Regions from separate parts of the Homo sapiens genome. Here region 1 is linked to region 2. The links are contacts of gene promoters, found by promoter capture Hi-C in blood cells and fetal thymus (Javierre and others, 2016). All regions are on one chromosome and are shown on one strand. Each heading gives the region's core, a stretch centred on a gene start or on the middle of the fragment in contact. The rest is flanking DNA. Distances are from core to core; before and after follow the strand shown.

The links. The method cuts DNA at HindIII sites, captures the fragments that hold promoters and counts their contacts. A CHiCAGO score of 5 or more calls a contact.
Region 1: a contact is called between a fragment that was not itself captured here and the fragment with the promoter of SIK2 in region 2, in 1 of 17 cell types (total CD8 T cells). The highest score is 5.2, in total CD8 T cells.

Annotation. Positions count from the first base shown.
Region 1 is chr11:111,682,901-111,689,379 of GRCh38, forward strand. It overlaps SIK2 (salt inducible kinase 2), which reads left to right. Exons shown (of 15, transcript NM_015191.3): 4 at 5,101-5,262. It also overlaps the pseudogene RN7SKP273 and a transcript of PPP2R1B not described here. Among named protein-coding and RNA genes, the nearest start is that of PPP2R1B, 80 kb to the right of the region's middle. The HindIII fragment of the contact is 340 bases long and covers 3,847-4,186 here.
Region 2 is chr11:111,599,721-111,606,478 of GRCh38, forward strand. It overlaps SIK2 (salt inducible kinase 2), which reads left to right and starts at 2,729. Exons shown (of 15, transcript NM_015191.3): 1 at 2,729-2,978. The coding sequence starts at 2,844. RefSeq lists an enhancer at 2,115-2,254 and silencers at 2,345-2,784, 3,335-3,494. The HindIII fragment of the contact is 10,147 bases long and covers 1-6,758 here.

The DNA of each region.
Region 1 (6,479 bases), core at 2,767-5,266, 84 kb after region 2:
GACCATGATTTTTGTAAAATGGCAGTAAAAAATAATGACCAGAAAAGCAAAACTGGAGGGGGTGTTGACATACAAAATATAACCTTAAAAGTTTTCATTATTAAAGTTAACAAACATAAAATTATATTTCACTTAACAATTAGAACCAAAATAAACATAGGAAACAAGAATTTTCTAAAAACTGTATTTATTCATCAAAAATACATAAGCAGATATGAGAGCTATCTGGCTGTGACATCTGTCACCCCACTGATCGCCAGGGTTGATTTGGCTGATCTGGCTGGCTAGATGGCTGTCCCCTTCCTCCCTCACCCCTCCATGTGTGTCCCTCCCAAAACTGCATGCTCGTTCGAAGAGGACAACCATCCCCAATAGAGGAGGACCAGTCTTTGGTCGAGGGTATATGAGTAGCTGCACTCCTCTGCCAGAATCTCCAAACAAGCTCTCAAGAATACACACATAAGCAGTTAGTATAGACAGTTGCTATTACATTCATAAGTTTGTTCTGTAAATAAGGTTTTTATTTTTTATTTTTATTATTTATTTAATTTATTTATTTATTTATTTTTGAGACAGAGTCTTGCTCCGTCTCCCAGGCTGGCATGCAGTGGCGTGATCTCGGCTCACTGCAACCTCCACCTCCCAGGTTCAAGCGATTCTCCTGCCTCAGCCTCCTGAGTAGCTGGGATAACAGGTGGCCGCCACCATGCCTGACTAATTTTTGTATAGTTAGTTGAGATGGGGTTTCGCCAGGTTGGCCAGGCTGGTTTCGAACTCCTGACCTCAGGTGATCCGCCCGCCTCAGCCTCCCAAAGTGCTGGGATTACAAGTGTGAGCTGCCACACCAGCCCATCAATAAGGTTTTTAATGTGAAACATAAATGTGCTTTTTGTATGTTAACTTCAAGACCATGTGCGTTAACTTGAGCTTGGATTGTGTTCCTTGAAGGGGTTGATGTATGCCTAAACAAATTTTATTTGCAGCCACATGTTTCTGGCTCACTTACTTCTATTACTGATTTCTCAGCAGATGTTACAGTTTTCAAGGATGCCTACACTGCAGAAATCATAAAGCATGGGGAAGATAATAGATACACTGGAATGCCTGCCGAGATTTTCACCTGAAGAGTGAAAGTGCCACTTCTCTAAATAGTTTGTCTCTGGAATTTAGACCATTTTTCTCACACTGTGTGTGAGATTACATTTACTGATAGGTGATGATTCTGTCTTTACATGGTAACTTTAGATTCAGATATACAATGCCTTTGTTTTTCAGACAGTGCCTTCCTGCTGCCACGTTTCAAACTTTTTCTTTCCCCTTGCCTGTGGTACTCCCAATTTGGACTGATAGCTTCAAAAAACAATAACTATAGATTCCATTGTGCTTCCTAGGACTCATTTTGTAGTCAGTAGTTTGGGGTCTCTTTCTATATATGTAAACTTCCACTCATTCACATTAAATCTGTTAGATTTCTCTGTGTTGCCAAAAATCTCAAAAATCTTTCCCACTAACCTCCATTGACTCAGCACTTTCTTCAGGGAAAAAAAAAAGTTGTCTATTTGGACAAGTCAGTCATTTGTCCATGAAAAAATGGTCTCATTTAGCGGTACAGCTTAAATAGCATTTTGTGTGGAATCTTAGGAGAGATATTATTAACTACTCAAAAGATATTCTCTTATAGAAAGCATATTGGCATTCCCCTCAGTAGGTTATATTTGCCCAAAGGTCCGTATTTATAGTGGACTTCCCAGCTCATCCAGTGTAGAAGTGAGCCTCTGGTTCGCTCTTATGCAGAGAAGGCACATTGTCTACTTGCCAGTTCTTAAACATAATCTGTCTCTGTTGGCAGTTTGGACATTTTGACTAAAAATTATGCATACTTGTTCTTAAGTGATCTGTTCTCCCTTAGAATTATGGATAGCTACTATGCAGGTTCTGCAAAGGCAAGAGGAAGATGTAATGAGCTGACCATCTCAGTTTCTGATGCCAACCCATAAAAAAGAATAAAATGCCCACTTACATTTAAAGCCTGTAATATTTAGAATATGGCTAATAGCTAAGTACTAAGAATTATACATGGGATGCTTTGTGCTTATGCTTAGTGCTAAGCATTGCAGAGTACAAAAGAGAATAATATGGTTCCTGTCTTCAGGAAGCTTAAATGAAGTTGTCTTTAATACTTCAAAACACTATGTGTTAGAGCCGCAGTCCCCAACCTTTTAAATGGCACCAGTGACCAAATAAGTGGAGGACAATTTTTCCCAGGTTGGGGAGGATGATTTGGGGATGAAACTGTTCCACCTCAGATCATCAGGCATTAGTTAGATTCTCAAAAGGAGCATTCAACTTAGATCCCTCACATGTGCAGTTCACAATAGGGTTCACATTCCTATGGCAGGGGGCCGGGTTCCTAACAGGCCATGGACCAGTGCTGGTCCGTGACCCAGGGGTTGAGGACCCCTCTTTTAAAGTAAGGGCTATGTGTATACACATGTGTGTGTACCTTGGGATATTTGTGATACACATGCAGATTATTACATACAGTGTGAGGCAGTGTATGATAAGTGACAAGGTGTTGAGAGAACAGGTTATTTCTGTTTGAAGTGAAGAGGGACTTAAGGTCAAGGTGGCATTTAATTAGAGTTTCGAAAGGATGGTTAGGGTCTGGTGTGATGGCTCACACCTGTAATCCCAGCACTTTGGGAGGCCAAGGCAGGAGGATTGCTTGAGTCCAGGAGTTTGAGCCCAGCCTGAACAACAGAGTGAGACCTCATCTCTACAAAAAATAAAATATTAATAATTAGCCAGATGTGGTGACATGCATCTGTAGTCCCAGCTGCTCAGGAGGCTGAGGTGGAAGGATTGATTGAATCCAGGAGGTTGAGGTTGAGGTGAGCTATAATTGCACACTGTACTGCACCCTGGGCAACAAAAGAGTGAGGCCCTGACTAAAAAATAAATAAACAAATAAAATAAAAGGATGGTTAGGATTTCAACAGGAGTCTAGTAAAGATGCTTAATATAATAAAAAAATTATGTCAAATATTACAGCCCCAGATTGACTGTTCAGTCACCAGTTGTACAAATTCAGCCAGATTACTTAATCCCTCTGATTGTCAGCTTTCTCATCTATAAAATGGGAATTGAGTAATAGTTATCATAGAAGGTTTTAGGAAGATGAAATGAGACACTGTGATATGAACATGCTTTGTAAAGTATAAAGTATTGTATAAATGTTAGTAAATTTTATAGTAAGTAGGCCAGGCATGGTGGCTCACACCTGTAATCCCAGCACTTTGGGAGGCCAAGGCGGGCAGATCACCTGAGGTCAGGAGTTTGACACCAGCCCGGGCAACATGGTGAAACCTCGTCTCTACTACAAATACAAAATTTAGCCAGGCGTGGTGGTGTGCACCTGTAGTCCCAGTTATTCGGGAGGCTGAGGCATGAGAATTGCTTGAACCTGGGGAGCAGAGGTTGCAGTGAGCCAAGATTACACCACTGCACTCCAGCCTAGGCGACAGACAAGACTCTGTCTCGAAAAACTAAAGAAAAAAATACATAGTAAATATTGAGAAGGACATGAGCCAAAGGCAGGGAATTTAAAAACCAGTAAGCTAGTAAACACTAGAGCAGAAAATGTGTGCAGGTGACTGGGAATATTGAGTCACTCATACAGTTCCCTAGTTAGGACAATTATGTTAAATTTAAAAGTCTTTCAAGATTTGTGTTGATCAAAAGATAATTTCAGAGGACTTTCAGGTCTTTGGGTGAAATGTTAATGAGTGGTAATGTTTAGTTTTATTGAATTGATGTACATAGTCACATAGAATTAATTTTTAGGTAAGCTTCTTTATTAAAGATTATAACATTGCATAAAGATAGTATATCTTGCAAAATATATTTGTCTTACAGTTGAGAGAATATGGTTGTCATGACAATGTTTGGTTTAGAGCACAAGTCTGCATGTTCTTGGGTAGACGAGAATTCTTTCGAACAGCACAGGGTGTGAATTATTTAAGCTACTTCCAGTTATCACCATATCTCATGTTACAGGTGGTTTGTATAATAATTGCATGAAAACAGTGTTTCAGAAAAGATGTCTTTCTGTGTGACAAGATGTCAGAGAATTCATTTATTTCCTCTGTTTTACATAAATTTTATTTTTTTAAAGTGTGAAATAATAAGCTTTTCAACAAATAGAGAGAGTACCTAGACATTAAAAAAATCATGTTGAGTTGTACTGTGAATATTATGCTGCTTGCTGCTGACTGGTCTTGGGCTGTCACCATTTATTTGGACTCCAGTGAAATATGATTAGAAATATTTCTTCAGGCTGGGCACGGTGGCTCACACCTGTAATCCCAGTACTTTGGGAGGCTGAGGCAGGAGGATCACGAGGTCAGGAGTTCGAGACCAGCCTGGCCAACGTGATGAAACCCCATCTATACTAAAAATACAAAAATTAGCTGGGCATGGTGGCAGGTACCTGCAATCCCAGCTACTCGGGAGGCTGAGGCAGAAGAATCATTTGAACCTGGGAGGTGGAGGTTACAGTGAGCTGAGATCACGCCACTACACTCCAGCCTGGGCAACAGAGCAAGACTCCATCTCAAAAAAAAAAAAAGAAAAAGAAATACTTCTTCAAAGTCAAGAAACTTGGAAAACACCATATTACTTTATCACTAATTATTGTTTTTTTTAAAAAAAAAAACTTTTTTTTTTGAGATAGAGTCTCACTCTCGTCCAGGCTGGAGGGCAGTGGTGCGATCTCGGCTCACTGCAAGCTCCACCTCCTGGGTTCACACCATTCTCCTGCCTCAGCCTCTCCAGTAGCTAGGACTACAGGCACCCGCCACCATGCCTGGCTAATTTTTTGTATTTTTAGTAGAGACGGGGTTTCACCGTGTTAGCCAGGATGGTCTCGATCTCCTGACCTCGTGATCTGCCCACCTCAGCCTCCCAAAGTGCTGGGACTACAGGCATGAGCCACTGCTCCTGGCCAGAAAAAAAACTTTTTGAGGAAAAAAATTTCCTGACTACTAATAGTGGAGTTATTTTATTTTGGTGACTAATTCTTAATCCTCTCTTCATTTACAGACTATCTTGCTAATCATGGCCGGTTAAATGAGTCTGAAGCCAGGCGAAAATTCTGGCAAATCCTGTCTGCTGTTGATTATTGTCATGGTCGGAAGATTGTGCACCGTGACCTCAAAGCTGAAAATCTCCTGCTGGATAACAACATGAATATCAAAATAGCAGGTAACTGGGACACAACTGGCTCTAATAAGATCCGAAGTGAGCCACTGCACTCAGTGTGTGGAAACAGACCTGCAGGCGCAGATTCAGCAGCATTTCTACCTGATGACATCAGGCTATCTCAAAGTCCATTTTATTCATTTCCTTAGTTCTGTGTGTAATTAAAAGTAAGGGAATGAGTTCATTATTAATATACACAGGTCAGAGCTACATCTGGGGTCTGATGTGTCCAGATTCCATTGGCAGGGTTTCGGGGTGCTCTGCTGGAAGAGGTACATTTATCTGAGTGTCAGAGTGACTGGAGAAAAGACAGGGCTGGAGGAGTAATGCTGGTTGCTGGTACTCTGGCCTGCTCTCCTAATTATGACTGATGGCTACAGCCAGAAGCAGAGAAAAGGCAAAAGAAGTGATGGAGGTAGAATGAGAAATAGTTGAGACAGAAAAGCACCTTTCCTTGATCTGATACGATAGGGTTTTGATTTATAACATGAAAATTAAGTTGGGTAGAGATTAGTTTGCCTGTTTTTCTCCTTGCCTTTTCACAGTTGTAAAATGTTTTATTTTATATTCTCAGTCTCTTTATTTACATAGTCAAAACTCTCATTCACTCAATAAATATGTATCAGGTACTGTGCTATGTTAAGTACAATATGATATGTGGAAATCATTTCACAACATATCCATATATAAAAATAGCATGTACACCTTGAATATACACAATTTTTGTCAATTACATTTTAATAAAACTGAAAAAATACAGTATGATAGTTGCAATTTTAAAAGTATATACAAACTGCATGGGAGTATAGGTGAGGGAACAAGCAGTCTACCTGAAGAGTCAGGGAAGCTTCACAAAGAAGGAATTATTTGAACTTAGACTTGAGAGAGAAGTTAGAGAAGCTTGTCAGGAAGATAAACAGAAGCAGAATGTTGCAGGCAGGTAGACAGAGATTGGAATGTTGGGGAACTGTAAATTCAAAACTGGTTACATGTAAAATCTGTAGGCATGCAGGATTGATACAGGGGGAGCAGATAAGTAAAGACCAGAATATGAAACATCTTGAATGCCATGTCAAAGATTTTATAGTTTATTCTGTAGGTAATGGGGAGTCTAGCCTACTGAAAATTATAGGGCATGGGTAGGGGTAAAGTGGAATTGGGATAACATGATTAGATTTGCATGTCAGAAATATGTCTCTGGCAGCAGAGTTAAGATAGGT
Region 2 (6,758 bases), core at 1,479-3,978:
ATACACAATATATTAATTTTCATTAAAAAATTAAAACTACAGAAAAGTTGCAAGAACAGTACAACGATCTACCACATACCCTTTTACCTACCTTTTACCTATTTTATCAATTTAAAACTTTGCCACATTTGCCTTATCTATCTGTGCTAAACTACTTGACAGTAAGTTGCATATATCAAAAGGTTTTTTTTTGTTGTTTTTTGTTAGAGTCTCACTCTGTCACCCAGGCTAGAGTGCAGTGGTATGATCTTGGCTCACTGCAACCTCCGCCTCCCAGGTTCAAGCGATTCTCCCACCTCAGCCTCCAGAGTAGCTAGGATTACAGGCGCACCACCACCCAGGCTGGTCTTGAACTCCTGACCTCAAGTGATATGCCCACCTCGGCCTGCCAAAGTGTTGGGATTACAGGTGTGAGCCACCACGCCCGGCCAAAAATTTTATACCTAATTGTTTAGTGTGTATCTCCTAATAACGGATACTCTCTCTTATAATCACAGTACAATTATAAAATTCAAGAAGTTTAACACTGAAACAGTATCTTATCTAATATGTAATCCATATTCAAATTTCAGTAGTTGTTCTGAAATATTCCTTTATAGCATGTTTTTTCAAGACCACATGTTGCCTTTAGTGCCATGCCTTTTTAAATCCCTTAAATCTAGAATGGTTCCTCAGCCTTTCTTTGACTTTCATGACACTGATGTTTTTTAAGGATACAGGTCAGTTGTTGAGTAGAATGTTTCTTAGTTTGCATCTTTCTGATGTTTCTAGATCATAATATGCATTTTTGACAGGAATACTACTTAAGAGATATTGTAACCTCAGTGCCTCACATCTGGAGGCACATCATGTCATTTTATCACATAATTGGTGACATTAACTTTGATCATTTGGTTAGGGTAGTGTCGGTCAGATTTCTCCACTGTAGAGGTACCCTTGTTAACCCTTTATCATGAATAAGAAATCCAAAGACTGTGCAAATATCTTGTTCCCCAGCCAAATTTTATTCAATGATTTTAACATCTATTGATAATTGTCTGAATCCATTATTACTGTAATGGCTGCCAAATGATTTGCTAATTGTCATTTCTTCTAACATATATTAGTTGGCATTCCACCGTCATTTCACTTCTCCCCTCTTTATTTTTCTGTTTAAAAGTAAGTATGCTCTACGATTCTTTTAAAAAATTCAATGTGTTAGAATCAATTTCTATATTTATTTATTTATTTATTTATTTACTGAGACAGAGTCTCGCTCTGTCGCCCAGGCTGGAGTGCAGTGGCACGATCTCGGCTCACTGCAACCTCTGCTTCCCTGGTTCAAGCAATTCTCCCTGCCTCAGCCTCCCGAGTAGCTGGGATTATAGGCGCCCACTACCACGCCCGGCTAATTTTTGCATTTTTAGTAGAGATGGGGTTTCACACAGGCTAGTCTTGAACTCCTGACCTCAGGTGATCCACCCGCCTCAGCCTCCCAAAGTGCTGGGATTACAGGCGTAAGCCACTAAGCCCGGCCCATTATTTATTCCTGATACTCAAACTGTCTCAGATTTGGTAAGGGGGGAGCACCTTCGAGCCATCTGCTTTCTTTTGACATATCTTCCTTGACATAGCCAAGAAATCTCCTTGCTTTAAGGAGCAGGATCTTTCAAGGGCATTTTATACTTTCCCTGTCTCTGCCCTCGAATGAGCCATCTCGCCACGGAGTCTGGCTCCTTTAGGTGGAGAATGGTATTTAGAAACCAAGATATAAAGGCATATGATACATCTCAAAATAGTGAGGTGTCACTGTCCCTGTTTCCTTGAGTCACATTTGGAAGCGTGGTGTGATTTATAATCCTACCTCGACTATTGCCTGTGTGACCTAGGCAATTCCCTTTATTCCTTGAGGTCTTCTTCGTCCTTTGGGGAAAAAAATTGGATTAGAGAAATATTTCTAAACTTTTTCAGAGTCACCAACGCGTTTGGGAATCTGACAGAAGCTACGGGTCCATCTCCCCAGAGACATGCTCACATAAGCAAAAACTGGCCTGTGTTTTAGGGGGTTCCAAACTCTGAAGCTCACATGAGGCTCCAAATCTCTGGATTAAGTGATCTCCAAGATCTCTTCAGCGCTGACATTGACATTCTGTGAGTCTATAAGCGACTGCACTGCTGTCAGAATGACTCCTCGGAGACATCAAAACGTGGAGGGTTTTATTATATATAGCAACGAGAAGAGAAAAGGACACAAAGAAAGGAGCCTGTGAGCAACGCATTGCTCAGCCACAGTTCTTTGCCGGTGCCAAATTTAGGACGCGCTGTACTTGTAGGTGAGAGGTTTTGGCGGGAAGGACCCCGGGTGGGCGGAGAACGCCGGGGCGGGGAAGGAGATCGCAGGCCGCATCCAGGTCTCTGCACCCCTCCGCACGGTCCGCCAGGGCTCGCTCTTGCCCTTCGCCTGGAAGGCCGAGGAACGGAGCGGGCCGAGCAGCGACCCCGCCCCTGGCAGCGGTGAGGCGGAGGGGCGAGGGGAGGGCGTCTGAGCCCGGAAGGAGCGCGCCGGCCAGGCTCGCGCCCCTCCCCGTGCGCCGTCCCCCACTCTCCAGCAGCCGACGTCGGCGGTGCTTCGGTCGCCATGGTGACCAATCCAGGCTCGGGCCCGCCCCCGCCCCCCTGCCCCGGCCCCCTGACGTCGGCGCACGTCAGCGGCGGCGCGCGCCTGGCTGGGCCCTGGGGAGCGGGAGGGAAGGAGCGAAGGAGCGAAGGAGCAAGCGGAGCGGCCGTCGCCCAAGCCAAGCCGCGCTGCCAACCCTCCCGCCCGCCCGCGCTCCTGTCCGCCGTGTCTAGCAGCGGGGCCCAGCATGGTCATGGCGGATGGCCCGAGGCACTTGCAGCGCGGGCCGGTCCGGGTGGGGTTCTACGACATCGAGGGCACGCTGGGCAAGGGCAACTTCGCTGTGGTGAAGCTGGGGCGGCACCGGATCACCAAGACGGAGGTGCGGCCCGGGGCTCGGCGGGAGCGTCCGAGGCGAGGGTTCGGGAGAGGAGCTGCTTACCGAGAGGGGCGGCCGCAGTGGTGGGACCGGGGAGACCCGAGAGGCCGCCTCACTGGCGGAGGCGAGCGGGCCTGGGACTGTGAGGACCCAGGAGGTGCAGGGGGTCGGTGAGCAGCGAAGGGATCGGGCCCGGGCACCCGGACCCGAGTGTCGTCCGACTGGAAACGCAACCAGCCGGGGCTTTGCTTTCCCCTACGCCACCCCCGGTGGCCACCCGGAATTTCGCCCAGAGCCCCCCACCCGGGCCGTGACCTGGTCTGTGGCCTCCGCTCCGGAGCCCAAGTTCCGCGTCTTCCCTGCTTTCGGCTGGGGGTGGGGTGGGAGGGGAAGTCTCGGTGTTCCCAGGCTGCGCCGTGAGAGACGTCGCCGGCCCGAGGAGGGGACCGCCTGCGCTTGGGCTCCGCGGATGGGGGATCGTGCGGCCCCCGTGACCCCGGCGCCCCTCCCCTGCCCGACGAGGAAGGGCCCCATGGCTGGGAATACCCCCACGGCCACTGTCCATCTCCTCTCCTTCCTTTTGGCCCAGGGTGTCTCTGATTTGGTGTCTGGCTAGCTTGATCTCTTGCCTGGGGCATTTCCATTTAATGCCCCAGACAATAGAACTGGTTAAAATGGTCATCTCTGCATTTGCACGGTGGGTGGATTGGTCTTCTACTTGTCTAGGGTTGTCACTGTACCAGGTGTGCATTCTGGCTGTAATACGCATTCTTTAAACCATATCAGATTCTGCCTCTACTCATAAAGCCCTCAACTGCTTCCTGACGGTGAATCCTGCACCCTCTTCATTGCACATTCTAATGCACCGCACATACTCTCTCACAAGTCTCTGTTCTTACCTAACCCGCCCCCCTTCCTTCCACTGCCTCAAGCTGCTCTCCTCAGGGTCTCTATTTTAAGACGTGCAAATTAAATACCTTAGAAGAACGGTAGAAACAAAACCATTCTTTAGAATAAAACCTAGTGGTTTTGACGTACTCTACTCTGCCTTATTGTAGTTCCTCCTGGAGTTTCATCCTTTTCCTGTTTGTTTGCCCTCCAGTTTTGGTCCTATTCTGCTTTTTCCCTTGTTAGTACGAATGTACTGGAGTTTGAGTGTAGAATAAAGTAGGACTTCTTTTCAGAATGACTTATGTAAGGCGAAGGGCACTTGCAAACGTGAGTGATTTTTGGAGTTGCAGTTGTACTTAGAAGTTTTGCTTAATCCCGTTTCCAAAAGGAAGGGGTATATGTCATTCTGTCTTCTTTACTTTTTGCCTTCCCCTGCTGGTCCTGAACCAGTCCAAATCTGACTTATCTTTTAGAATCAGGACCAAGGTCAGATATTTTCTTCTCACAGATTTACCAGTTAGCAATTTAGATTGTTTGTAATGATAATGATAACTTGACTATAGTGATATTGTTAAATCTTAATCTGATCCCAGCATTTTTTAAAATGAAGAAATTGGTTCCATTCCTCTGAAGAGCCATGGCCTATGCCATGCCATTTCCCTTTAAGTTACATAAAAGAAGGCATTTTAAATGCATGTTTTATGAGTCCTTGCTTAATGACTTTCTAAAAACAAACAAATTGTGAGTTATAGAGAGGTTCTACAAAACTTTTGAACTGTAGTATATCGTGTGGTTGAATTCCAAATCCATCAGTTCTTAATATTTTTTTCTCATCAGCTCTTACTGGGATTAATAGCAAGATTTAATTAAGTCATCTATTATTTATCAGGTCAAATTTAGTTAATACAGTAAGAGCTGCTTAAGTGGAGTGATTGACACTTTGAGGTTGACAATTCAAATGGTGTCCGTTTTAAACTAATATATCTTAAAGAGCTAGGGGGCACTATGGAGTAATACCGTGGTTTGGCTATCAGAGTGAGATCAATGCATTCATTTGTAATTGGAACAAGCACCGGTCAGATCGTGAAAGAGGACTTAGATCCTAAATCGTGTGTGTAGTATATATGTGTAAAATGATTTACGTTAAAAGCTAAATGTTTAGTCCGCAGAACCCATTTCCCTGTGCTTTTCTAAAGAAGCTGTTATTAACATATAAAAAGAAATAGTGTGAATTTGAGATGGGTGAGGGTATCTGTGGTAATTTGGTGGGTGTGATTGGAGATATTAAGGTAGAGAGGGATAAGTGAAATGTCAAAGCAATCTTTGAACAGAAAAGTTCTCTGGATCTCTAGGTTGTAAAGTTGCTCTGAATTTTTTTTTTTTTTTTTTGAGACGGAGCCTCGCTCTTGTTGCCCAGGCTGGCTGGAGTGCAGTGGTGCGATCTCGGCTCACTGCAACCTCTGCCTCCTGGGTTCGAGCGATTCTCCTGCCTCACCCTCCCAAGTAGCTGGGATTACAGGCGCTCACCACCATGCCCGGCTAATTTGTGTGTTTTTAGTAGAGACGGGGTTTCACAGTGTTGGCCAGGCTGGTTTCGAACTCCTGACCTCAAGTGATCCACACGCCTTGGCCCCACAAAGTGCTGGGATTACAGGCGTGAGCCACCGCGCCTGGCCCAATTGTTTCTTAAAGTATTCCATGGGAGTAACAATTCCATTGTTAATGATGTTTTTTACAGCAGTTATTTATCCTTATTCGTTCATTCACTGGATAAATGTTTGTGTGTTTTTGATAAATACAACTACCTTAAAAACTATAAGATGTTTAATTAAAACTTTTGTTTTAAATTCAGTTTTCATGGCAGAACATACTACAGTAGTTATAGTGGAACAATGAATATGGTATAAAAATAATATCAGCAAAATATCACAATTATACTTATTGACGATAAAAGTTTCTTTATATACTATGCTTTAACATCGATACAAGTTTGTGTGTTTTAAAACTTAGAGGTCTTTTTTCCCAAGTTTGACTCTGAGGCAAATTTTAGGGCTTAATCATCTATGTAATGAGCAATTAGGACCCTTTTATTTTTAACTGGTTCTTCTCTGTCTCTTGTTCTATATCACTCACAAATGATGTATTTCTACAGAACTTGGGAGATTCAAGTCTGTTTCCCTTTTAGGAAAAAAATAGTGGACAAAAGAGATCTTCGTTTTGGTCGAATCTATCAAACAGTTTAACATTGTTTATGAAATATAATTACATCATCATCTGAAGTGGTATTGTGTTAGATCTCGATGTGAATTTTGCATCCAAAGGGGAAGACAGGTGGTGGTAGAATCCAGCTTCCTAATACGCTTTGCAAAGGCTTTGTAGTATTAGTTTGTGGTTTATGAATTAGAGATGCTAATTTTATAAAATTAGCATAATGGGAAAAGAATAATAGCATGTCAGCTGTTAAACTTTGAGGCAATAGTGGTTGCTTGTTTGCTATTCAGTGAGTGTCCTTGAGTAGTTTATTTTATCAATACTATACAGTATTAGGAAATAACTTTTTCCTTCTAGTTAGTGGTATAGCTAGTTTTTTGTCTCTTAAGTAAAATTCTAGAAAAGCCAATTGTATCCTTAAATGTTTTTGTATTCTATTTAAGAAACAGTTTCTTTCTTGTTGCTTTCAGGACAAAAGAAAGAAAAATAAATAAAGAAGTAGTCTCTTATTATAATATAAAAAATAAGAGTATAGTGAACAAAAAAGTATACATATAATTCCTCCACTAATGGGAATAACCCATTCTTAACATTATGGCACTAGTCTTTTTATTTAAATGCATTTTTTCCATAGATGAAAGCACATGGTACATATATATAAATTATGTTCTTTTTTCTACT